Regions from separate parts of the Homo sapiens genome. Here regions 1, 2 and 4 are each linked to region 3. The links are contacts of gene promoters, found by promoter capture Hi-C in blood cells and fetal thymus (Javierre and others, 2016). All regions are on one chromosome and are shown on one strand. The core of a region is centred on a gene start or on the middle of the fragment in contact, and the rest is flanking DNA. Distances in the headings are between cores, read along the strand shown. Region 1 overlaps PTK2 (protein tyrosine kinase 2). Region 2 holds the start of LOC105375782 (a long non-coding RNA gene). Region 3 holds the start of SLC45A4 (solute carrier family 45 member 4). Region 4 overlaps AGO2 (argonaute RISC catalytic component 2).

Region 1 (6,134 bases), core at 2,982-5,481, 530 kb before region 3:
GACCAAAGCAATGTGGTTGTGCTATTCGCTTTACGGTTCAGTTGTGCTACAGCAGACATGGGACAGAACGAGCTGGCTTTAACTTGGCCAAGTGAGTTAAAACCAAACAAACGAGTAGGGCAGAGATGATGGGGATGTAGGCCAGGGAAGGATACAATTATTGATCAGGGGTTTTAGGCTTGTTAAGAAACCAGAGAAGACAAAAAAATGTGATGTAGACAGCAGAATGGGGATGGGATCAAGGACAAGCTAGAAAAATTGGAGGTGGCAGTCAGAGAGGGTTTTCTTAAAATTGAAATTATAGGAGAGTTATAGTTGTAGATAAAGTGTAGGTCTCACAGGAAAGAGAAATAGCAGACAGCACCACTGGAAGAATGGAGAGAAGAGGTGCTGGGGCTGGGCACAGTGGGTCACACCTGTAATCCCAGCACTTTGGGAGGCCAAGGAGGGCAGATCACTTGAGGTCAGGAGTTTGAGACCAGCCTGGTCAACATGGTGAAACCCCGTCGCTACTAAAAATAAAAAAAATTAGCTGAGTGTGGTGGCGCACACCTGTAATCCCAGCTACTCGGGAGGCTGAGGCAGGAGAATAGCTTGAAACTGGGAGGCAGAGGTTGCAGTGAGCCGAAATCCCACCACTGCACTCCAGCCTGGGCGATGGAAAAAAAAAAAAAAGAAAAAAAAAAAAAGAAGACATGCTGGAGGAATTGCCTACCATGAATATTGAAATCCTCCCAAACTACGATGGGGGATGCTGGAGCACTGACAGTGAACTGGGTGCTCAGAACTTTGAGGAACATAGGACAGCCTTGTTCTGATATGTGAGATTCAAAGCTCATGTTTTTGAGGGAGAGTAGTCTGGAAGGGGCAATGAGAATCAGGGCACCCTTACCTCATCTCCAGTCCTAGTGCTACCATGGTTCTCAGACACCATCAGTAGGGTTACAGAGGCACCAAGGGGTATCAGTGCCCTCCAGAGTTTTAGTTAGAGGAAGGTGACAAAGAGGAATATATAGAGAAGTCCCAGAAGACAGAGGTGTAGTGTTTTAGAAGTTGGGGGAAACTGAGCAATAAAGACAAAACAGAGGGTATGCAGAGGGTATGCCAGCAACAAGGGAGTCTGGGGCTTCTGGAGGAACAGGTATGAATAGGGATAAAGAGCATAATGAGATTAGTCCAACTGGATCAGCATTTTCCTTTTTATTTCTAGTTACATAAGTAAGGCGATATTTTCCTTTGACCATACCTCTCAATTCTATTCTTCTCCTTGGGCATGAGGGTGTGGTGCTGACAAAGCTGAACACTACCGAACTCTGTGTTCCAGCAAACAGGTTTCCCAGTAATCATCCAACCTGGGGTGGTCATGGGGGAACCTCCTATTCCAACAATGTGAAAAACACACAAATTCATACTGATATTTTAAAAAGAAAATCTCAAAGAATGACATCTGACTAGCAAGGTATAATTTACTATTTTAAAAACTGGTAAATAAAGGAAAAGAAAAAGGCAGTTCCTGTCTTCCCAGGAGAAGCCTGCTCCCGAGGGTAATGAAGCAGCTGGTGAGGGAACGCTGTCTCTAGAAGCATTCCAGCTAAACAAAGGGAGAAGAAATGACAGGATTCACAGGGTGCCATTTTGTGGCCTCTGATGAAATCTAAGCATTAATGTCAACAGCTGCTAAAACTATTAGGTGAAATGCTCATGGGAACGTTCTCATGTATGGATCAGAGAGTGATGGGACCTAAACCCATTGATTAGTCTTAACATCACAAAGAACAACCAGATGTACATCACCTAAGAAGTATTCTTGTTGTGGGGAGGGGGGGAATCAAGCCCAAACTGGATCAAACTTCTTTAGGTTCTAACAAGCAGCTGATGGGAAATAAACGGGCCAGAAAAGAATAGGTTAAACAAGACAGCATCACAGAGATGTAATCAGCCTAATCCAGAATATGAGAATAGGACAAGGGACACAATTTCTTCAACAGAGTAATTGCAACTAGTAACAATCAACCAACAAGGTCTAGCTGACACATACAGGAGATACTCAAGCAAATTCACAAAGTACTTCTTGTCTGATTCTTGTTTAGACGAAACCACATATGAAAATGGGACAATCAGGGATATTTGAACACTGACTGGATAGCTGATAATGTTTTGTAAAAAAAGTCTCATCTTTTAGGAATAGTTACAGGTGAAATATGCCTTCGATTTGCTTTAGAATAACCAATAGGGATTATGTGTGTATGTAAGTGGACAGAGGCAGAGGTGAAATAAAATTGGCCAGAAGTTTTTAGTTGCTGAATCTGGGTGATGATGATACGAAAAATCATGATACAATTCTATTCTCTCTTTTCTGTATATGCTTGAAATTTTCCATAAAAAGTTTTAAAAACTCAAAATTCAAAAGCATAGTAGGTACTTAATATTTATTCATTTCCATGGTCTCCTCTTTGTAAAGGCATCAAAAATATTTTGTCTTGACTCATGCAGTTTGATTTTAATCCACAATTATTGTATAGCTATAAGCTACAAACGGGGTGGGGGAAGACTTGAGGTCAAACTCTAGAATTTATATTTTAAACTTTCAAGCATTCCCTTTAAAATTATTTTCTGCAAAGAAAAAAATAACTGGGCCTTTTGATGTTAGCAATATTTATTTTATATTTGGTAAGATGATGATACTTGGGCTTTTTGTGTTTTAATAATATATTTTTTTAAAAAGATTGAGAAGTTTATTAATTATTGTTAATAAGTTTCGCCAGAGGATCAAGATGGTTCATAAGCCAAGTATACCCAATACTGCCAACTGTGAAGCATTTATTTTATAAAGACAAAAATACATTTTTGTTTCTAATACTCTCATATAGTCTTTTCCCCTTTATAGCGTGGGGGCTGCTTGGGAGAAGATGGGAATACTCTCTTCTGGAAACAAAATTTATAAGACTGAGCTGGATTTCTGTGGGCTGGGAAGAGTTTATAAAAACAAAAATCCACTTTAAATTTTTGTTGTACTCATTATTGCTCAGCTTTTCATTTGGCCTTTTTAAAAATTTGAAAGTGCCTCAGGCTACCCCTTGCCAGGGAGGTCTGTGAGTTTCTGTCTGCACTGTCTGCACTGCCTGCAGCTGAGACGAGTTCAGCTCAAGGGTGAAGGAGTGGTTCCGGGTCCTTTTTCAGGATACTTCTTTACAACATACGATGCTGATATTTCAAAACCTATATGACCTCCAAGTATTCTTTTCAACTGCTTTAGAACCCAGAGAAGAAACGGTATGACTACGAAGAACACCCCGATCTCAACAGTGGCAAAGGGAGTTCGAATGATGTAATGGTGGGAGAGGGAGGGCTATCGGAAAGAAGGCAGCACAGCTGGGCTATTTTGATTGTTCACTTCCTTATTCATGCACAACACGATCAGCCAGTCTATCCATATGAAGTCAGTGACAACTGTACGCTTCTCAGTGGTTTGGAGTCTCTCCTAATACCAGACTGACTACCAGAATAATTTCCAGTGAGCCAGGTACTAGGAACAGATCAATAACATTCAATACCTACTACTTTGTGCACATAAAAATTATTAGTAGCATTAATTTGATTAAATTATGTCACAAAGCATATAATTTACAAAAATGAATTTATCTTTTAAAATTTGGTTGTTTTTTTTTTTGGGGGGGGGGACAGGGTCCTCTCTTTGTCACCCAGAATGGAGTACAGTGGGGTGATCTCAGCTCACTGCAACCTCCAAATCCCAGGGTCAAGAGATCCTCCTACCTCAGCCTTCTGAGTAGCTGGGACTATGGGCACACGCCTCCACGCCTGGCTACAGTTTTTGTAGAGACAGGGTTTCACCATGTTGCCCAGGCTGGTCTCAAACTCTTGGGCTCAAGTAATCTGCCTGCCTTGGCCTTCCAAAGTGCTAGGACTACAGGCGTGAGGCACTGTGCCTGGCCTAAATTTAGTTTTACTTTTTAATTTTTTCAGTGTCCCGTAGATTTGGTAGGGAAAAAAATGAACTACTTATATAATAGGTGACAATGCTCTCAAATTAGGGCAAGGTTTTTTTTTTTCTTTTCTTTCCCCTTTTAATTCCTAAAAGCTAGCATTTAAATCAAGCTTTCAGCAACAGATAGAGACTACCTTGGAAACCCACAGCATTATCAAAATTGAAACTAGAGTGTAAAACTAGACAGAAGAACCTTTTTCAAACTTGAATACAGGGCACACTTCTGAGAGTTGGAACTGAGTCAGCACTATCCTATTCCTAATAAATGAGGGGAAAAAACCTTAATGGAATCACACGCAAACTCTTTCAAAGTATTATTTCCTTCCACACATTTATATTATCAAGCTTTAGAAATGAGTCAACATAGGCTAGGTGCAGTGGCTCACACCTGTAATCCCAGCACTTTCGGAGGCAGAGGCAGGCAGGTCGCTTGAGCCCAGGAGTTTGAGACCAGCCTGGGCAACATAGGGAGACCCCGTCTCTACAAAAAAAATACAAAAATTTGCTGGGCATGGTGGCGCACACCTGTAGTCCCAGCTACTTGGGAAGCTAAGGCAGGAGGATCACTTGAGCCCAGGAGGTTGAGCTGCAGTGAGCTGAGATCAAGCCACTGCAATCCAGCCTGGGTGACAGAGGGAGACCATGTCTCCAGAAAAAAGAAAGAAATGAGTCAATATGGTCTAATGTAAAGAGAACAAACCTTCTAGTCCAAGATCAAGATTTCCATCAGGCTATTACTTACTAGCTATGTGAACTTGGCCAAACCACTTCAGCTCCGAGTGTCTTTATTTCTTTATGTGTAAAGTGAAAATATTACGAAGACTCTCATGAGGTTTAAACAAAATGATGCCTGTGGATGGGCCAGGCATGATCTCTAAGACACATGCATATGTAAATAACTACCTGTATTTATAAGTGGCATAGTCATGAATAGGTAACAAATCTAGTGTATCAGAGACCACACAGAAAGAGATAAAATGCAGTAATTATTATAGACTATACCACCTTATATTTTATAGAACTTTACAGTTTACAAACCACCTTTGCATATACAAGTGAGCTGTTTTAGAATTTGTAATGAAGCAGCTTAATACAAAATACAAATAACATTTATTTCATTAAATGTTTTAATAGTTCAGAATAATTTCCAGTCACTAACCTGAAAAACCTAAAAGTAATCTTGAATAAAGGAAATTATGTTGCATGATAAACAACTGAACCAAAATAATGTTAGAAAATTAAAAATTTATTTAAATTGCAACAAATACTGAAAAAGTATCACAAAGGGCCAGGCGTGGTGGCTCACGACTAATTTTAATTCCAGCACTTTGGAAGGCCGAGGTGGGTGGATCACCTGAGGTCAAGACTTCGAGATCAGCCTGGCCAACGTTGTGAAACCCCATCTCTACTAAAAATACAAAAACTAGCTAGGCGTGGTGGTGCACAACTGTAGTCCCACCTACTCGGGAGGCAGAGGCAGAGGCAGGAGGCTTGAACCTGGGAGGCGGAGGTTGCAGTGAGCCAAGATCACACCACTGCATTCCAGCCTGGGTGACAAAGTGGGGGGAAAAAAACTATCACAAAGTAGTATAATTGCCCTTTAGCATGAAGGGCTTAGAGACAATCAAACCAAGCATTTGAAAAAGATCACTGCATTGGTGTACATGACAGAGATACAAATGAGAAAACTTGTATTATCTCTAGTGCCACATGTGTAGTCCAAACATGTAACAAGAGCCATGTGCATAATGCAATGGTATTACTATCATGTGTTATCTTGTACTTCTGGTCATAATTAAGGTTTTACTGCTTGATCAAGGGCTTCGTTATTTTAGAAAAGAAAAAGAAAAAAAAACCCAAACACAATAATCCACCAAACAAAACCCCCAAGTTTATACCTTCAAAATATTTAAAATACAGCTTTACTCATTGATTTGGAAATACCTGATTTCTAGGGTAATTTTAACCCACACAACCATTGGTTAAGCACTCCCTCCCCACAGAGGCCACACCTCCTCTTTCAGCATACTTACAGGTCCCTTATGATAGACTGCAGCACCTGACTTTCAGATATGTTCCAAGTTGTACCCGAGCTCCACAACAAGCACAAGTTTCCTTATAACTTAAT
Region 2 (5,751 bases), core at 2,560-5,059, 840 kb before region 3:
CATCCCTGCTCAGGGCTAGTGGAAAACCAATTGAGTTTTTATTGAATTATTTTCTACAGAGTCAGAATGAGTTATAAATAAAACATATCTTCAGGGCAAAACAAATAGAGCTGATTTCCAGCCTGCCAGACAGCCAGGAAGTTTTCAACAGAGGTGCCCAGGGGCTGAGGAAGAGTGTCTCCCTGACAACGCACAAGCTGCCCAACGTGGCTACCTCATGGTGTTACGACCGCATGGAGGCCGTGCAGTGGCTCACAGCTGTAATCCCAGCACTTTGGGAGGCCGAAGCAGACGGATTGCTTGAGCCCAGGAGTTTAAGACCAGCCTGGGCAACACAGGGAAACTCTGTCTCTTGGAAAAAATACCAAAATTAGCTGGGCAGGATGGCACAAACCTGTAGCCACAGCTACTCAGGAGACTGAGGCAAGAGGATCGCTTGAGTCCAGCCAGGTCGAGGCTGCAGTAAACCATGATCACTCTAGCCTGGGAGAGACAGCAAGACCCTGTCTCAAAAAAAAAGTGGTTTTTTTTATTTTTTTTAAATGAATAAATAAACAAAAGAGCGTATGGGCTTAACAGAGAATACAGAAAAGATACATTTAAAAGGCCACTGCTAATGGAGGTCTGAGTGCAGAAACTAGGCTCCAAGCTTACCTCATAAGATCCAAGCAAGGGAGCTATTTTTAGTGCTGAAGTCCAGAAAGGATACCCTACTTGGCTGGGGTCACACAAATGGCTGGTGCTATTTAGGGATTCAAATCCAGGGCTGTCAGACCCCACAGACTCTACTTTTTGCATAGGTCTTTTCTTATTCTGTCTGTAAGTGGATAAGGCAAGCAACTTGGAAAGCAAGATTGAAAGCTGGCAAAAGGAAACATTGCTTATTTGCAATGTACACACTTCAATCAATTTATGTTGCTGTCTCAGCAAATCTGTGGGGGAAGGAGAGCGGGGACTATTATTCTGCTTTTTTTTAAATTTATTTATTTACTTTTTTGAGACAGAGTCTCACTCTGTCACCCAGGCTGGAGTATAGTGGCACGATCTCAGCTCACTGCAACCTCCACCTCCCGGGTTCACGCGATTCTCCTGCCTCAGCCTCCTGAGTAGCTGAGATTACAGGTGCGCGCCACCACACTCGGCTAATTTTTGTATTTTTAGTAGAGACGGGGTTTCACCGTGTTGGTCAGGCTGGTCTCGAACTCCTGACCTCATGATCCTCCCACCTCGGCCTCCCAAAGTGCTGGTATTATTACTCTGCATTTTTACCAATGAGAAAACGGAGGCTCAGAGAGTGTAAGAGCCTGCCACAGCCCAGCCCACAATGATCAAATGAGAACATCCAAAGCAGTCCCCGTACTGTCTAGGTCCTGGGGCTGTGCTCCTTTAGCATCTTTAACATTTCCTAAGCATCTCCTCTGAAGGGTGACAATTCAAACATACAAAACCTGCCCTCAAGGAATTTACAGACATCTAAGGTTGGAAGGAATTTCTAAAATAACCAGGTCCAACCTCATACTCACACTCTCTCCCCTCTACAAAAGTCCTAACAGGCAGAATGCTTTGATGATGTGGCTATTTGTCTTAGTTGGTTTGGGCAGATATAAGAAATTACTAGAACAACACTGAGATCAGGGCGCCAGCATGGGTAGGGTGTGATGAAGGTCATCTTCTGAATGGCAGATGGCTGGCTTCTTGTATTTTCACATGACAGATAGAGAGCAAACTAGCTGTCTGGTCTCTTTTTTTTTTTTTTTTTTAAGATAGAGTCTCACTCTTGTTGCCCAGGCTGGAGTGCAGTGGCGCAATCTCAGCTCACCACAACCTCCACCTCCTGGGTTCAAGCGATTCTCCTGCCTCAGCCTCCTGAGTACTTGGGATTACAGGCATGCACCTCCACACCCAGCTAATTTTTTGTATTTTTTAGTAGAGACAGGGTTTCTCCATGTTGGTCAGGCTGCTCTCAAACTCCCGACCTCAGGTGATTCGCCTGCCTCAGCCTCCCGAAGTGCTGGGATTACAGGCATGAGCCACCGCACCCGGCCTAATTTTGTATTTTAAGTAGAGGCACAGTTTCACCATGTTGGCCAGGCTGGTCTCGAACTCCTGACCTCAGGTGATCCACCTGCCTCAGCCTCCCAAAGTGCTGGGATTACAGGCATGAGCCACCGTGTCCAGCCTGGTCTCTTCTTAGAAGCGCACTAATCCCATTCATGGGGGTTCTGCCCTTATGACCTAATTACCTCCCAAAGGCCCCACATCCATATATGATCATATTGGGGAATAAATTTAAACATATGAATTTGGGAAGAACATGAACATTCAGTTCATAACAAGCTCTACAAGAAAATTATCCAGTAAACTCAGCCAGAATATGCTTCCCTGAAACATCCAGTCAAGGGGTCTCAAGAAATAGGACCAAGCTGGCCTCGGTATCTCATGTCTGTAATCCCAGCATTTTGAGAGGCCAAGGAGGGAGGATTGTTTGATCCCAGGAGCTAGAGATGAGCCCAAGCAACATAGCTAGACCCCATCTCCACACAAAATTTAAAAAATAGCCGGCACGATTGTGCACACCTGTAGTCCCAGCTACTTGGGATGCTGAGGTGAGAGGATTGCTTGAGCTCAGAAAGTCAAGGCTATAGTCAGCTCGATCGTGCCACTGCACTCCAGCCTGGGAGACAGAGCAAAGAGTGAAACTCTGTCTAAATATATATACACACACACATACACACACACACATATAATATATATATAATCTATATATGGGACTAATGCCCCACAAGGCTTGCTGAGGTTGACAATTATCACAGCTGTGAGTTAAAAGTACAGGCTGGGACAGGTACGGTGGCTCATACCTGTAATCCCAGCACTTTGGGAGGCCGAGGCAGGTGGATCACGAGGTCAGGAGTTTGACACCACCCTGGCCAACATGGCAAAACCCCGTCTCTACTAAAAATAATAATAATAATACAAAAATTAGCCGGGCGTGGTGGTGGGCGCCTGTAATCCCAGCTACTCGGGAGGCTGAGGCAGGAGAATCACTTGAACCTGGGAGGCAGAGGCTACAGTGAGCAGAGATCGTGCCACTGCACTCCAGCCTGGGCAACAAGAGCAAGACTCCGTCTCAAAAAAAAAAAAAAAAAGTGCAGGCTAGACTCCAGCCTGGGCAACAGTGTGAGACCCTATCTCAAAAAAAAAAAAAAAAAGTTTAGGACAGAGTCCCTGCTCCATCACTCCCTAATTACTTGCCTTCCATATTTTCAGTTATTATATAAGGATAATCATTTCATAGGGCTATCATTAGGATTAAAGAAAGTGTGAGAAGGCAATTTGAGACAGAATGGACAAATTCTGTCACATGCTACTTGTACAGCCTCAGGGTAAGGTGACCATATAGCTTTACTTTCCTGGTACAATTCCAGCTTATGTCCTGGCTAACGGTGTTCCGGTTGGGTGATCCAATCACTCCACTTTGCACAAAAGCCAGCACCTCTCAAGGGTTTTGATCCCCCACCAGTACCATAAAGAGTTTCTTCTCCTTCCCGTGTTATAGGACTCCATAGTGTCATGTCTCACCTGGGCTTTCTAGCTCACAGGCTATGGAGGGAAAAAATAACTATACTTATTTAGCACAACTAAGAACCAGCTACTTGGTTAGACCTTCATAACTCTTCCTTCAAAATAACACGATGGTAACTACCATTTACAAAACTTTTTTTTATCTTTTTTTTTTTTTTTTGAGACAGGGTCTTGCTCTGTGGCCCAGGCTGAAGCGCAGTGGTGCGATCTTGGCTCACTGTGGATCCTCTTCCTCCTGGGCTCAAGCCAACGTCCCACTTCAGCCTCCCATCATGCCCGGCTAATTTTTGTAAATTTTTTTGTAGAGGCAGGGTTTCCCTACGTTGCCCAGGCTAGTCTGGAACTCCTGAGCCCAAGTGATCCGCCCGTCTCGGCCTCCCAAAGTGCTGGGATTACAGGCGTGAGCCACCGTGCCCGGCCTCATTTATGAAACTCTTATCTGGCAGGCAATGTGCAATGTGCTTGGCATAAATATCTCATATCCTCACAATAATCGTGTAAGGAAGAAACTCGGACTCAACCTCAAGATAAGCACCAAAGCTCATTTTAAACCTCACTGCCCTCTGCAAGATAACTATACAGATGCTCCTCGATTTATGATGGGTTGCTTCCCGATAAGCCCATCGCAAAGTTGAAAAATCCCCTAAGTCGAGCCACCCTAAGTTGGGGACGCCTGCATCATGCTTTCAGAGGTGAATGTAAAGTGGGTGAAGCGGCTCAGTGATTGAGCGCTAGCCAGGATTCCACGCCAGGCCTTTCCGTGTTCAACAGCTGCTTTCAGAAGTGTGGAAGCCTCGGAGAGGGTCCCTGAGGTAAGATGGGCTGAGCGTCGCCGCCTTCTGCAAGGACACCAGCCTTGAGAGAAGAGAGGAGATAAGGTGCAAACGAAGAAAGGCAGGGACGCCGCGGTTTCAGTCGAAGCGTGGGCTCCTTAAGGACAGGGGCTGTGTCCGACTCGGCTCTGAATCCCCAGCGCCTACACAAGCTCTGACACAGCGTATACTCAGTAAACATGGAGTGAATCAGTTCATTCAATGAATGAACGAATGAATGAAACGCCAGAGCCCGCCACAGGGGTCCGCTGCCGCTCCACGCCCGGGCCTCTCACCGGCCAATCAACACTGTGACTCGTACGCCCTGCCCCCTGATGCCACGCCCATCACTCGCCCCTCTGGATTCCCTCCGGCTGCGTGGAAATCCCGGAGCACTGGATTTCCCAGAGGCGCCTCCGGTAGCAGTGCGCATGCTCCAGCGCCGGTAGCTGAGGCATCAATTTCCCGCAGCGCCTAGGGGACGGATTGGAAAGCGATTGGCTTAGGGGACGGAAGCCAAGCTCCACCTGCCTGACACCCGGCTCTTCACGCAGAACCGAAGATTCATTTTGGACAGCCCTTCCCCAGTACCACTCCCACCCCGACGTTGGTCCCAATCGGAACCTATCCTACACAAGGCTGAAAAAAAGAGGGGAGCGACCGGAAGTGACGCACGAGCGCGAGCGGAAAAACAGGGGCCCAGCGCCTGTTGCCGTGGAAACCGAGCCCTCGGCTTGCGTCCCGGGTGCGTCACAGCTCCGGCTGACCACGCCCCGCGCGCGGCCCCGAGGCCCTGAGGCCCAGGGCGGGGACCAAAAGCCGCGCGCTTGTGACGATGTCGCTGCGGGGCACGCTAAGGGGCGGAGAGGAAATTTAGGGCCTGCCTTTTGTACATTCGGTTATTCAGCCCAGAAATATGTATTCAACCCCAGGCGCGTGCCTGGCATTGTGGAAGGCGACACGTGAGGAGAATTGTGACTGGCCCAGATGTCACCCCCCCCCAGCCCAGTAGTCATTCTTCTCTGGAAGTCCTTACCCATCTCACCTGTTCATTCTTCAACCCCCAGTTTCCCGACCTTTTTCCTCAAGCCACGCCCTTCCACGCTTTCTTGTCTTTTCTGTGGTGTTCCTTCAGTCTAGAATATTCTCCACCTAGTACAATCCTGCTCCTCCCCTGACATTCTGCTGAAATTGCACTCTTCAGCCTTCCCAGGTAGCTGTGGGCTGTGACATGTGTCAGAGACTGATGAGTTTTCTTTTTACTTTTCTATATTGTCTCATTTTTTTTCTTTAAGCATACATACATTGATTTTATAATGAAACATAAATCATTTTTAAAGAGATCAGTTATTCTCAA
Region 3 (5,742 bases), core at 1,941-4,440:
TGATTTCACAAAAGCTTAGCATTTGATACTCGGGGGAAAAGGCCACTAGAAGCACATTTTGAAAGTTTCACATTTAAAAAGATCCTTGTTCATTGATTTTGGTGGGGTAATTAAGCTAATCTAAACAAGGGGACCTTGTCTAGGAGCCGGTGGGGGAGGTGCAGCCGCTCAGGTCCTCTGCATGAAAACCCACTGCAGACGCCTGCTTTTGGGGTCCTCTCACCCCTTCCTTTCTACAAGGCTGCTCTTCGGCTGGGAGGTTTGCTCCCTCTGGTCAAATCTGTTTCCTGGCTCAGGTGGAGACAACCCTTCTGATGGTGTTTCACTAAGTGCGCCTTCGTCAGCATAATCACGCAGTGATGAAAACCTGGGGAACCTAGGAGGCCAGCGAGGAACAGTCCTCACCCATCATTAGCAGGAACGCGGCTTCCAGCATATTCTGCCTCCACAAATTACAGACACGACTCTGCCAGGGGTGTTCCCAAGAAGGGCACTGGCAATTTGGGGTTGTCTGCCACCTACAGTGCTTGTCAGTCACCCTCACTCGGTGCCAGGCCACAAGGCTGTTGGTCACAAACCACCCCAGCCAGCCACTGGGCGTCAGGACCCTCGGGAAGAGCGGGAGAGGGCACTGGGATGCACCACGGTCAGAACGACAATCACAGCCCGAACCCCTGCGCTGCACTCCTCTGTCCTCCCCACCTCTCTCCTGACAACACAGATACAATCCATTCACCACCAAGCAACCTCAAGATTGGCTGAAATACCTTCCTCGGCTCCTTTCCTCCATCGGGAAAGTGGGGAGCTGCCGCTGCCGCAGCCCTCTCCTTCCCTGCAGATCTGCGGGGCGGGCTGGGGCGGGATCTCAGAGCTCACGGAAAGGAGGCAGAATCCGGTTTACAGGCTTGCTCCGCCCCTCCCCCACCCCCCTCCAATAAGCAAAGTTAGAGGGTGTTACAAGCTGCAAGACACACACCTTGGAGCTCACCCAGTCCAATCTCTGATCTGCTTTCACGATGCGACAAGGGCCAAAGCTGCAGCACGCATCTCGGCAGGGCAGCAGGCCACTCCCCCCACGAGGCCCGGGAGGTGGCCCTGGGCAGCCTCCCCACTCCCCGCCCTGTGAACACCTGGGCCAAAAAAACACACCTTTAAATACCCAGTGTGTATTTCAAACACATTTCAAACGATTTGCTTCTTTCCTTTACAGCCACTGCCACAAAAACAATTAGCCTGAACGGGTGTGAAATCCTTGATGTGTAAGACGACCTAGTTCCCCAGCCTCTCTCTAGAAACACATGAGTTCTTTACTGCGCCTGAGTCTCCTCCACCCGGAACCTGCAGGGCTGCCTCTTCTCATCAAGTGGCTTCTGCAAAACCTCTCCCAAGCATTTAAATAATCTCTGCTCGTTCTTTTAACAATAATTCAAACCTAGCAGAAAAGTGAGGACACTATACATTTCTTTTAAGGACAGTGTGTGTTACCTGCTCTGATCCCCATGTGTTACACTCCCTAACCTGTACACCAATACTCCAGCTTTTTGTTTTCTTATTTTTTCCTAAAGCCAGCACAAAATAACAGAAGGATAAGATTCCTACCACATTCTACCTGTCTGCCAATGACACAGGAAGGATGAGACCGTCTGGGGAATGGAAGCGCAGGGCGCTCTCAGTAATGCTGGGCAGATGCAGTGGCTTTTCCCCAGCAGAAATGGGCTTCGATTCAGAATCTACCAGCCCACAAGAATCATCTGACCCCACAACAATTAGTTCAATCACTCATCTGGTAAACCCTCCTCGCTCCGGGTCATAGACTGGAAAAGACAGCCCCCAAAACAGTAATAAAAACGACAAGCCCTGTTTTGCTGGAGTCAGCTGAGGTATCAGATGGGGGTCAGTGGCTAGGTCTGTGAACCTGAAGCCACACTCCATCAGTGACCCGCACTGGAGAGACACAAACACCTCAGGCTCCTTAGGAGGTCAAGCGGCCCTTCCCAGCCCTCCCTAGCCCCCGCCTTCTAGAATCATTCTGAATAGCTAACCAGGAGGCTGGGCCCCGTGTGGATCCGCCTCCGCTGGAAAAGCCGCTGCTGGAAGTGCTCCAATCCAGAGCAGGATACCTGGGGGAGGAACGGGTTAAGCGCAAAGGGGAAAGGGGCAGCGGGTGCTGAGACGCAGAAGGTGCGGGGACTTCTACAGAGCAGGGAATCTGGGCCCGGATGAACTGATGCCCTGGCCTCTTTCCTCCAGGGACAAGGTCGGTCTCAGGAAATCAAGGTATCTTCAAAGGGACACAAGGGAGCGCAGTGCCGATGAGACCGGGGCAGAGCCACAGTCTGGCGGTGCAGGCTGGGGGTCCGAGGCGGGGGACACTGGCTAGCAGTGCTGCCAGGGTCGTGTGTGCACTGGGCAGAGGGAAAGGAGGGGAAGAAGGGAAGGGGAAGAAGGGGAAGAAGGGAGTGTGTTCGGTTGGGAGGACCGGTCCAGACAGAGGGGAGAGGGGGCCACTTCGCGAGTGGTGTATCGCTGGTTGAATTCTCATAAGTTAGAGATAGCAGGCAGGGGTTAGAAGGACAAGACAGGGTCAGGACCAGGAGTTAGAGGCGCCAGGCTCCTCTCTGGGTAGAGAAACCGAGGAACTGGGGGCGGGGAGGACTGATGGGTGCGAAAGCGGGCCGGGTCCAAATGAAGGCGCGCGCCCCGGGGTGGGGGCCGGGGTGGGGGGAATGAGGGAGGCTGCAGGGCTGGGGACCAGGGCAGGTGCAATCCGGAAAGAGGAGGCGGGAAGGAATTGGGGGGCCCTGAGGAGCCAGCGCAAGCCGGGTGGGGGCACGTCCCCTCCCCCGGAGAAGGTGCGGGGCTGGGGCTGCGGCGCGGACCCGACCTGGAGGCCGAGGCTGTGCGGGAGGTGGGGGTGGGGAGGCTGCAGGTGCCCGGCGCCCAGGTGCGAGGTGCAGGGGGCGGCGGGGCAGGCGGCTGCGGGCGGCAGGCCACTCACCTGTCTCCTCCGGCCGGGGCCGCGGGGGCGGCGGGGCGGCCGGGCCGGGCCGGGCAGGGGCTACGGGGGCGCGGAGCCCCGGGCGCACCGGGGTCGGGAGGCGGCTGCGGGTCCGGGCGGGGGCTGCTCCCTCGGCCGGCCGGCCGGGCGGTCAGTCAGCGACGCGGGCGCGGAGAGAGCGCTGCGAGGCTGCGGCCGGCGCGCGGAGACAACGCCGCTTTATCGGGTCGGAAACAGCCGCTCCGCGCCGCTTCCGCTGACGCAGCGCCGGCCCCTGCGCCTCATGACTATGCAGCACCCGCCGCCGCGGGACGGGGATTCGGGGGGCGGGGTCTGCGCCGCGCGCGCTCATTGGCCTCCGCTGCCGCCCACCCCGCCCCCGAACGGCCGCCCCGCCCCCGCCGCGCCCCTGCCCCGCCCCCGCGCGCACCGTGGCTCCCGCCCCCGTCTCGCCATGGCCCCGCCCCCAGCCATAATCCAGCCCCGCCCCCGCCCTCCTCCCGCTACGCCCCCGGCCCCGGCCCCGGCCCCGGCCCCTCCGCACCGAGCGTCCGCCCTCTCTCCCCTAAAGCGCTGGCCCGCAATCCACCCCATCCCTCTCTGCAGCCGCAGGAGGTGGCCCCCGCCTGTCCCCACCTTCTCTCCCCGCTCCTCTCGCCACTCTGTCGCAGAGGGGTCCGGCTAGCCACGAGGCCCCGGCCCCCGGCAGCCCAGCCCCTTGGCAAGCACCCTCCCGCCCCCTCCGCCCCTGCCCGTGGCGCGGCGACATGGGCCCCATCCAGGTGCTGCAGCCCCTCCTCCGCTGCAGGAGAAAACTCTCCTGTTTTCCCCTCCCTGCCACCCTCCGAAGACCTCCTACCTGGTCCCGGACCACGCCCCCGTCCCCAACTCCCCCAACGCCCCGCGCTCTGCGGGTCCCCTCTCCAACCTGGAGAGCGGGGCAGGACGAAGACCCGACCCGGAGCTTCCTGGAGGCTGGGCCTCCCTCTCAGGCTTGGCCCTGGCCAGGGACACTGATCCGTCTCTCCCCACGTGTAGAAGGGCCACAATCCCTAGGGCAGGACTGCTGGGAAACCCCATCAAGACAAGGTCTGGGGAGGCGGCTTTAACAGACAGATGTGATGGGCTGAGGCCAACCCTGTTAACGTCGCAGCCCTGCACCCTTGCCAGGGTTTAAGTTGCTTTGGAGGAATTACTTCATTTCTCAGAACCTTGGCGTCCTCATCTGTAAAATAGAAATCGTAAGATCCATCTCACCTGTTGCTAAAGGAATTTAGAAGTGAAGTGCAGAGCAGAGCCTCCAAGAGCATCGGAAATGGGAAAATCTGACCATATCAAGTGTTGACAAGGAAATGGAGCAACTGGAACTGCCAGACACTGTTGGTGGACATGCAAAGTGGTACAACTTTCAAAATCTTTTTGAAAGGCCTTGATTACCCAGCAATTCTGCTCCTAGATACACACCTAACATTGTGTTTCTGTTGATAGCAGCAGTGTTTATAATTGCCCCAAACTGGAAACTACTGAAATGCTCATCAGCCGTTAAATGGATACATAAATTGTGATATATTCACACAGTGGAATGACAGCAATGACAGTGAATAATCAACTACACACAACAACATGGATGACTCTCACAAATGATGTTGAGGAAAAGAAGCCAGAGGATAAAAAGCCATATTTGTTTCCATGTGGATAAAGTGGTAGAAGGTGTATATGGGGGTAGCAGTCAGGATAGTGGTTACCCTTGGAGGGAGGGGTGCCAGAGCCAGGAAGCAGGGCACAGAGGACGTGTCTGGGGGCTGGCTGTGTTCTGTGTCTTGGTCTGAGTGCTGGTTACAGTGTGCTCAGTTTATGATGACTTTTCCAGCTGTGCAGTCAAGATGCATGTGCCTGTGGGGCACGGTGATTCACGCCTGTAATTCTAACACTTTGGAAGGCCAAAGCGGGTGGATTGCTTGAGCCCAGGAGTTTGAGACCAGCCTGAGCAACATGGTAAGACCCTATCTCTATTAAAAAAAAAAAAAGACGTGTGTGTTTTTCCATGTGTATGCAGTATCTCAACAGAGGGTTAGTAAGTACATCAATGGTCTGTAGACAGTCCAAAGCAGCATCAGACACATCATGAGTGCTCAAACTGTACATCTGCTTCCCTGGTGATTTTTCTTTCAATGGCCAAAGGATAGAGGCAGCGGCAATTCCAGGTGTGCTGTGAGCCAACTGTGTGAGCCTGGGCGCCTACTTAACCTCCCTGAGTCCTCTTCTATAAGTGAGCATTCTAATAGTACCTAGTTCACAAGTTGTCCTGAAGCTTAAACAAAATAGCAAAATGATGCTTTTTAAAATGACAATACAATCAAGAGGACAGAACAGGTAAAGACTTTGTTTATTCACAAATTGCTGGTATTGATTGAATTGTCTTCATTGTCATTCATGCAGTAACCAACTACTGAGTGTGTGCCTACTATGTGCCACACGCTTTGCTGGGTCCTAGTACTGGAGCTGGGAACATGATCCCATCTCTCTTCTTAAGGAGTGCATTGTGGGGTATGTACCAGCCATGGTAGCCATGGAGCCCAGTCTAGGATCAGCCTTGTAGTAGGTGCTCCATAAGTATTTCTTGGGGCTGGGCATGGTGGTGGCTCATGCCTGTAATCCCAGCACCTTGGGAGGCCGAGGTGGGTGGATTGCTTGAGCTCAAGAGTTCTAGACCAGCCTGGGTAACATGGCGAAACCCCATCTCT
Region 4 (5,463 bases), core at 2,104-4,603, 730 kb before region 3:
TGAGCAAGCGTCCCTGCTTCTGCAGAGCCAGCTCTGCTGGCCACCCAGGTCTCAGGCTTGCCCTTGACCTCCCAAAAAAGATGACAGCCCAGGAGTTCATTTGCATGCATTCCGTCCACCAGTGGGGCCCCAGCCTCTAAGAGAGTGACCCATGTTGAAACGAAGGAAAAGGAGAACCACGGCCAAGCTGTTAGTGCTCGTTCTGCCAAGTTCTTAGTGGGGACAGCTCCCTCTTCAGTCGCCACCCAGGGAAAGGGCAGCGCCAAGCAGCACCCCGCACGGGGCCGGGGCCGCCTTGCAGAAGCCGGAGCGTGTTGCTAATGCCGAGAAGCAAGTGTCTGCCCCGTTTGCCTGTTTGCCCTTTTGTCATAATTCTGAGAGGTTCCCTCTTTTACAAATGTCATCCTTTCATTAATTTCTAATTACACAGCTTTTGCCTTAATACATTCTCACCAAAAGTTTCACATAACGATAAAGCTAAAAGTCCCAGCCTGGGCAACACAGAGAGACCCCATCTCTACAACGTATTTAAAAATTAGTGGAGTGTGGTGGTGCGCGCCTGTGGTCCCAGCTACTTGGGAGGCTGAGGTGGAAGGATTGCTTGACCTCGGGAGGTTGAGGTTGCAGTGAGCCATCACTGCGTCACTGCACTCCAGCCTGGGTAACAGAGGGAGACACTGTTTCAAAAAGAAAAAAAAAAACAAAAAGCTAAAAGTCTGTTTACAGTACCCACTCATTTCAATCCCCATTCTAAGAAGTAACCTTATCCTTTTCAAACCTATGCTTTCACATAAACACACAGCTATCCAGAAATACATTGTTTTATTATTTTTATACACATGGTATCAAACCCACACTTCTGAGGCGCCCATTTTCCTACTCTGTGTCTTTGGGATCTTTCCTCCTAACTGTATACAATGTCGCCACTAGGTCTAGAACTACAGACACGGTAATCATGTGCCTTAGTGTTACCACCTAACCACTTGCTACTTAGTTGCCTGTGTTTCTGAGCTTGGAGGTCAGCCTGGGAGCCCCATTCCACTCCTGCTAAGCACCACACTGCATGCCCCAGCGCACTCCTCTAACCCACCACTTCCTACTGATACTTAGATGGTGTCTTTTGTTGTTCTTTTTTTTTTTTCAGAGTAGTCATCCTATACATCTCCTTGAGATATAGAGACTGAGAAGGAGAACGGGTGGGTCAGAGGGTACACGATGTTTCTGCTTTAATACCTGCAATACCCGCACCAGACTGTCTTGTAAACAGGCAGGGTCCACCTGCATTCCCGTGAGTGGCTCATGCCCAGAGTCACAGAGCTCTAGGCGCAAGGCTGAGTGTGACACAGCCATGCTGCCTGGCCCCCTGCTCCACAGGCACAGGGCCATCGCATCTGCTGGTTCTTCTGGGGCCACTTGACGGAGCTCAAGACGAACAAGGAGGAAGAGGGGCAGGGGAAGGGAGAGGAGCCCACCTCCTCCTCGCAGCCCACCCGTGCTTCTCGGAACAGAGCATGGGGGCAAGGCCCACGTGACTTCAGCAAGGCTTAGGTCGTGTGGGCCTTGCCCCCATTCTTTCTCGGGGCTGGCTCAAGACTGGCTGTGTTGTGCAGCCACCTTGGTGCCCACAGCTGTACGGGACGCTCCTGGGAGGAAGGGTCTTGCTTGCACCAAACCCCACCCCGGCAGCCCCGGGAAAGGGGTGGACTATACTGCAGGGCCTGAGGGCACTGAGGCTGCTTCACTGTGTAGTTGTCAGAATGTCACAGAGGTAACTGAGGTGCAAGGGCATTTTTCTCATGGCCTTGGATAAAGCCTCTGTGTTGGACTCATTAAACATCTACCCGGGGCATTGTACAAGGTTTTGGGAACTCACGACTAAGACGCCATCCTTGCTCTCACAGAGGCTGCAGTGTGGTAAGAGAAATGGGAAGGAGATGCTGAGCAGCACGACGGAGGAGCCCAGACTCATGATGGGCTCAGGGCCCCACCTTCGTCTCCCTTTCCACTCGGAGCTCCCCTCCAGCGGCGCTGACCATGAGCACCATCCACCTCCCCACTGGGGACAGGAGCCATGTCTGCCTCAGCCACCACTGCACCCCCAGGGCACTGCAACTGATGTGTGAGCGGGGGGTCTCAGGAAGGTGGGTCATGGGAGGAGGCAGGAGGTAGGCCAGGGCTCCCACACAGGTCTTGTGAGCACAAACATTTTACTTCTGACATTTTCCTATGCTGTTTTGATTGATTATAATTTTGAGATAGGGCCTAAAGGTTCCTCCGTCTAGGCAGCCACTCTCAAGCTTGCTCATAGCCTAGCAGGTTGGCCTTGGCCCTGTGCATGCAGCTCTTGCCCTGCATTTGCTGCTTACCAACTGCGTGACCTGAGCCTGGCAGGCGAAACCACAGGAGTGTAGTAGCACAGTCCTGGAAAGACATCACGTTCTCATCACCCTCAGCTTCTTTCTGGTGTCAGATAACGAAGCCTTGGCCATGCCTAGTTTCGTAAAAGAAAGCTGCTTGTGTACTGTGGTCGATGGCCTAAGGGCCCCCCTGCTACCGCACCAGTCAACAGCCCAGAAAATGTGGGCCAGGCACAGTGGCTCACACCTGTAATCCCAGCACTTTGGGAGGCCAAGGTGAGCAGACTGCTTGAGGCCAGGAGTTTGAGACCAGCCTGGGCAACATGGTGAAACCCTGTCTCTACTAAACAGGCTCACGCCTGTAATTCTAGCACTTTGAGAGGCCAAGGCAGGCAGATCACAAGACGCCAGGAGTTTGAGACCAGCCTGAGCAACATGGTGAAACCCAGTCTCTACTAAAAATGCAAAATTAGCCGGGTGTGGTGGCGCATGCCTGCAATCCCAGCTACTCCGGACGGGTAGCTGAGGCACGAGAATCGCTTGAACCCAGGAGGTGAAGGTTGCAGTGAGCCCAGATCATGCCACTGCACTCCAACCTGGGCAACAGAGCAAGATCCTGTCTCTAAAAAAAAAAAGGAAATGTGTATACTGCTTTATGCTCTCATTCTGGTTCTAGGAGTACCCCCTAAATCACAGATTCACACAGGGTTCTATCCCAGGGAAACGCAAAAACAAACCAGCAGTCCCACTGATGGAGAGCCACACAGCAGTGAGATATACTAAAAGATCTAGGAAGACCTTTAGTAAAGAAAGCTGCTTAACCCAGTGGTGCACATAGTTTTTGTTCAGAAATACATGGTTTTAGTAAGTGCATATTTAAAGAACCTCATAGAACTCTCAACATACTCTGGACATGTTGAGTGAATCCAACTGTTTAGTTTTACAGATATGAGAACTAAGTCCCCAGACATTCTCTCTCTTAGCATATTCAGAGTTCTGCAACCATCACCATGGCTTAGAACATTTTTACCACCCCCAAAATCAACACTATACTCAACAGCAGTCACTCCCCACCATTCCAGGAAAAGAAAAATTTACACAACCATTTATAATAGCATCCAAGAACATAGCATACTTTAGATTCATAGTGACCACAATAAAAAATTCAAAGGGGCTTTCTAGCAGAAATTGATAAGTTATTTATATTTATTATTCTATATACTTGGAAAAGCAATAGATCTAGAATAGCTAAAACAATTGTAAAGAACAACAAATTTGGAGGAATTATTTAATCGGATTTCAAGCCTTACCACTTAACTATAGTTAAAATGACCAAGAGTTCCTGGCCTAAAGACAACACAGAAGAGAATCCAGAAATAGATCCACCCACATATACAGGTTGAGCACCCCTAATCTGAAAACCCCAAATCCAAAATGCTCCAAAATCTGAAACTTTATGAGCACCAACATGACGCTCAAAGGAAATGCTCATTGGAGCATTTTGGGTGTCAGGTTTTCAGATCTGCAATGCTCAACTGGTAAGCGTAACGGAAATATTCCAAAATTCAAATAAATAAATAAATAAATGAAAACTTGAAACACTTCTAGTCCTAAGCATTTTCAGTAAGGGATACTCAACCTGTACAATCAAATTATTTTTTTTAAAGGTCAACAGGTAAATCAGTGGGGAAAGAAAAGTATTTTCAACAGACCCTTACCTCACAACATACATAAAAATTAATTCAAGATGGATCGTGGACTAAATATGCAAGCAAAAACTATAATTCTAAAATAAAAACAGGAGAATATCTTTATGATCCCTAGGTAGGCAAAAATTTCCTAGAGAGAATACACTATGTAACAGCTATTTTTAAAAATTTATAAATTGGACTTCAACAAAACTAAAAAGTTCTACTCATTAAAAGAAAGACACCAACAGGAAGGTGAGATGACAAACTTTGGACTAGGAGAAAATATTCCCAGTATAGACTTGTATGATGCTGATTTTTAGGTGCCAATGTGTCTAGATTAAAGAATAATCCAGAGAACTGGTAAAGCTTGACTTCTGGGCATGTCTGTGTGGCTGCTTCCAGAGGAGACTGCGTGTTAGTCAGGGACCAGGTGGGGATCTGCCCCCAGTGTGGGTAGTGCCATCCAATCAGCTGGGGACACAGACAGAAAAAAAGGAGAGAAAGAGTGATTTCTTCTCTCCCTCCTGGGGCTGGGGCACTGTCTTCCTCCTGCCTCGGACATCAGAACTTCAGGCTCCCTTGGCCTTTGGGCTCTAGGACTTATAGCAGCAGCCCTGTGGGTTCCAGGTCTTTGGCTTCCCTGATTATAAGGCTTTCAGACTTGGCCTGAGCCCCGCTACTGACACTCCAGGGTCTCCAGCTTGTAAATGGCCTGCTGTGGGACATCTTAGCCTCTACAATCATGTGAGCCAATTCCCCTAATAAATCCCCTCTCATATCTATAGATATATGTACAGTCATGCGTGGCTTAACCATGGGGATATGGCCTGAGAAATTCACTCAGGCAATTTCATTGCAGTGTGAACATCATAGAGTATATTTACATATACCCAGGAGGTAGAGTCTACCACACACCTAGGCCACAAACCTGTACAGCACACGACTGCTGAACACGGCAGGCAATTGTAACACCATGGTAAGGATGTGTACATCTACATATACCTAGGTCGGGCCCAGTGGCTCATGCCTGTAATCCCAGCACTCTGAGAGGCTGAAGCAGGCAGATCACTTGAGGTCAGGAGTTCAAGAGTAGCCTGGCCAATATGGTGAAATCCTGTCTCTACTAAAAATACAAAAAATTAGCCAGGTGTGGTGGCAGGTGCCTGTAATCCCAGCTACTTGGGAGGATGAGGCAGGAGAATCACTTGAACCCAGGAGGTGGAGACTACAGTGAACTGAGTTCATGCCACTGGACTCCAGGGTGACAGAGCAAGACTCCATCTCAAAAGAAAAAATAAAAAAATCTAAACTCAGAAAGGGTAGCGCATTGCTCTACTACGTTACGTGGGCTATGATTTCAGCTCCCTTACAATCTTTTGGGACCACGGTGGTATATGTGTCTGTCACTGGCCAAA

The links. Contacts are between HindIII fragments. The CHiCAGO score rates a contact against its expected background, and 5 or more counts as called.
Region 1: a contact is called between a fragment that was not itself captured here and the fragment with the promoter of SLC45A4 in region 3, in 2 of 17 cell types (total B cells and naive B cells). The highest score is 5.7, in total B cells.
Region 2: a fragment that was not itself captured here is called in contact with the fragment with the promoter of SLC45A4 in region 3 in 1 of 17 cell types (neutrophils); the score reaches 5.2 in neutrophils.
Region 4: a fragment that was not itself captured here is called in contact with the fragment with the promoter of SLC45A4 in region 3 in 1 of 17 cell types (neutrophils); the score reaches 5.9 in neutrophils.

Annotation. Positions count from the first base shown.
Region 1 is chr8:140,778,585-140,784,718 of GRCh38, forward strand. All of the region lies in intron 14 of PTK2 (protein tyrosine kinase 2), which reads right to left. Among named protein-coding and RNA genes, the nearest start is that of MIR151A, 49 kb to the left of the region's middle. The HindIII fragment of the contact is 235 bases long and covers 4,115-4,349 here.
Region 2 is chr8:140,459,695-140,465,445 of GRCh38, forward strand. It overlaps LOC105375782 (a long non-coding RNA gene), which reads left to right and starts at 5,177. Exons shown (of 2, transcript XR_928707.3): 1 at 5,177-5,356. RefSeq lists an enhancer at 4,405-5,604. The HindIII fragment of the contact is 6,324 bases long and covers 648-5,751 here.
Region 3 is chr8:141,305,098-141,310,839 of GRCh38, forward strand. It overlaps SLC45A4 (solute carrier family 45 member 4), which reads right to left and starts at 3,191. Exons shown (of 9, transcript NM_001286646.2): 1 at 2,999-3,191. RefSeq lists silencers at 3,067-3,166, 3,187-3,426. The HindIII fragment of the contact is 5,295 bases long and covers 13-5,307 here.
Region 4 is chr8:140,578,539-140,584,001 of GRCh38, forward strand. All of the region lies in intron 2 of AGO2 (argonaute RISC catalytic component 2), which reads right to left. Among named protein-coding and RNA genes, the nearest start is that of ERICD, 53 kb to the right of the region's middle. RefSeq lists an enhancer at 1,101-1,200. The HindIII fragment of the contact is 2,117 bases long and covers 2,296-4,412 here.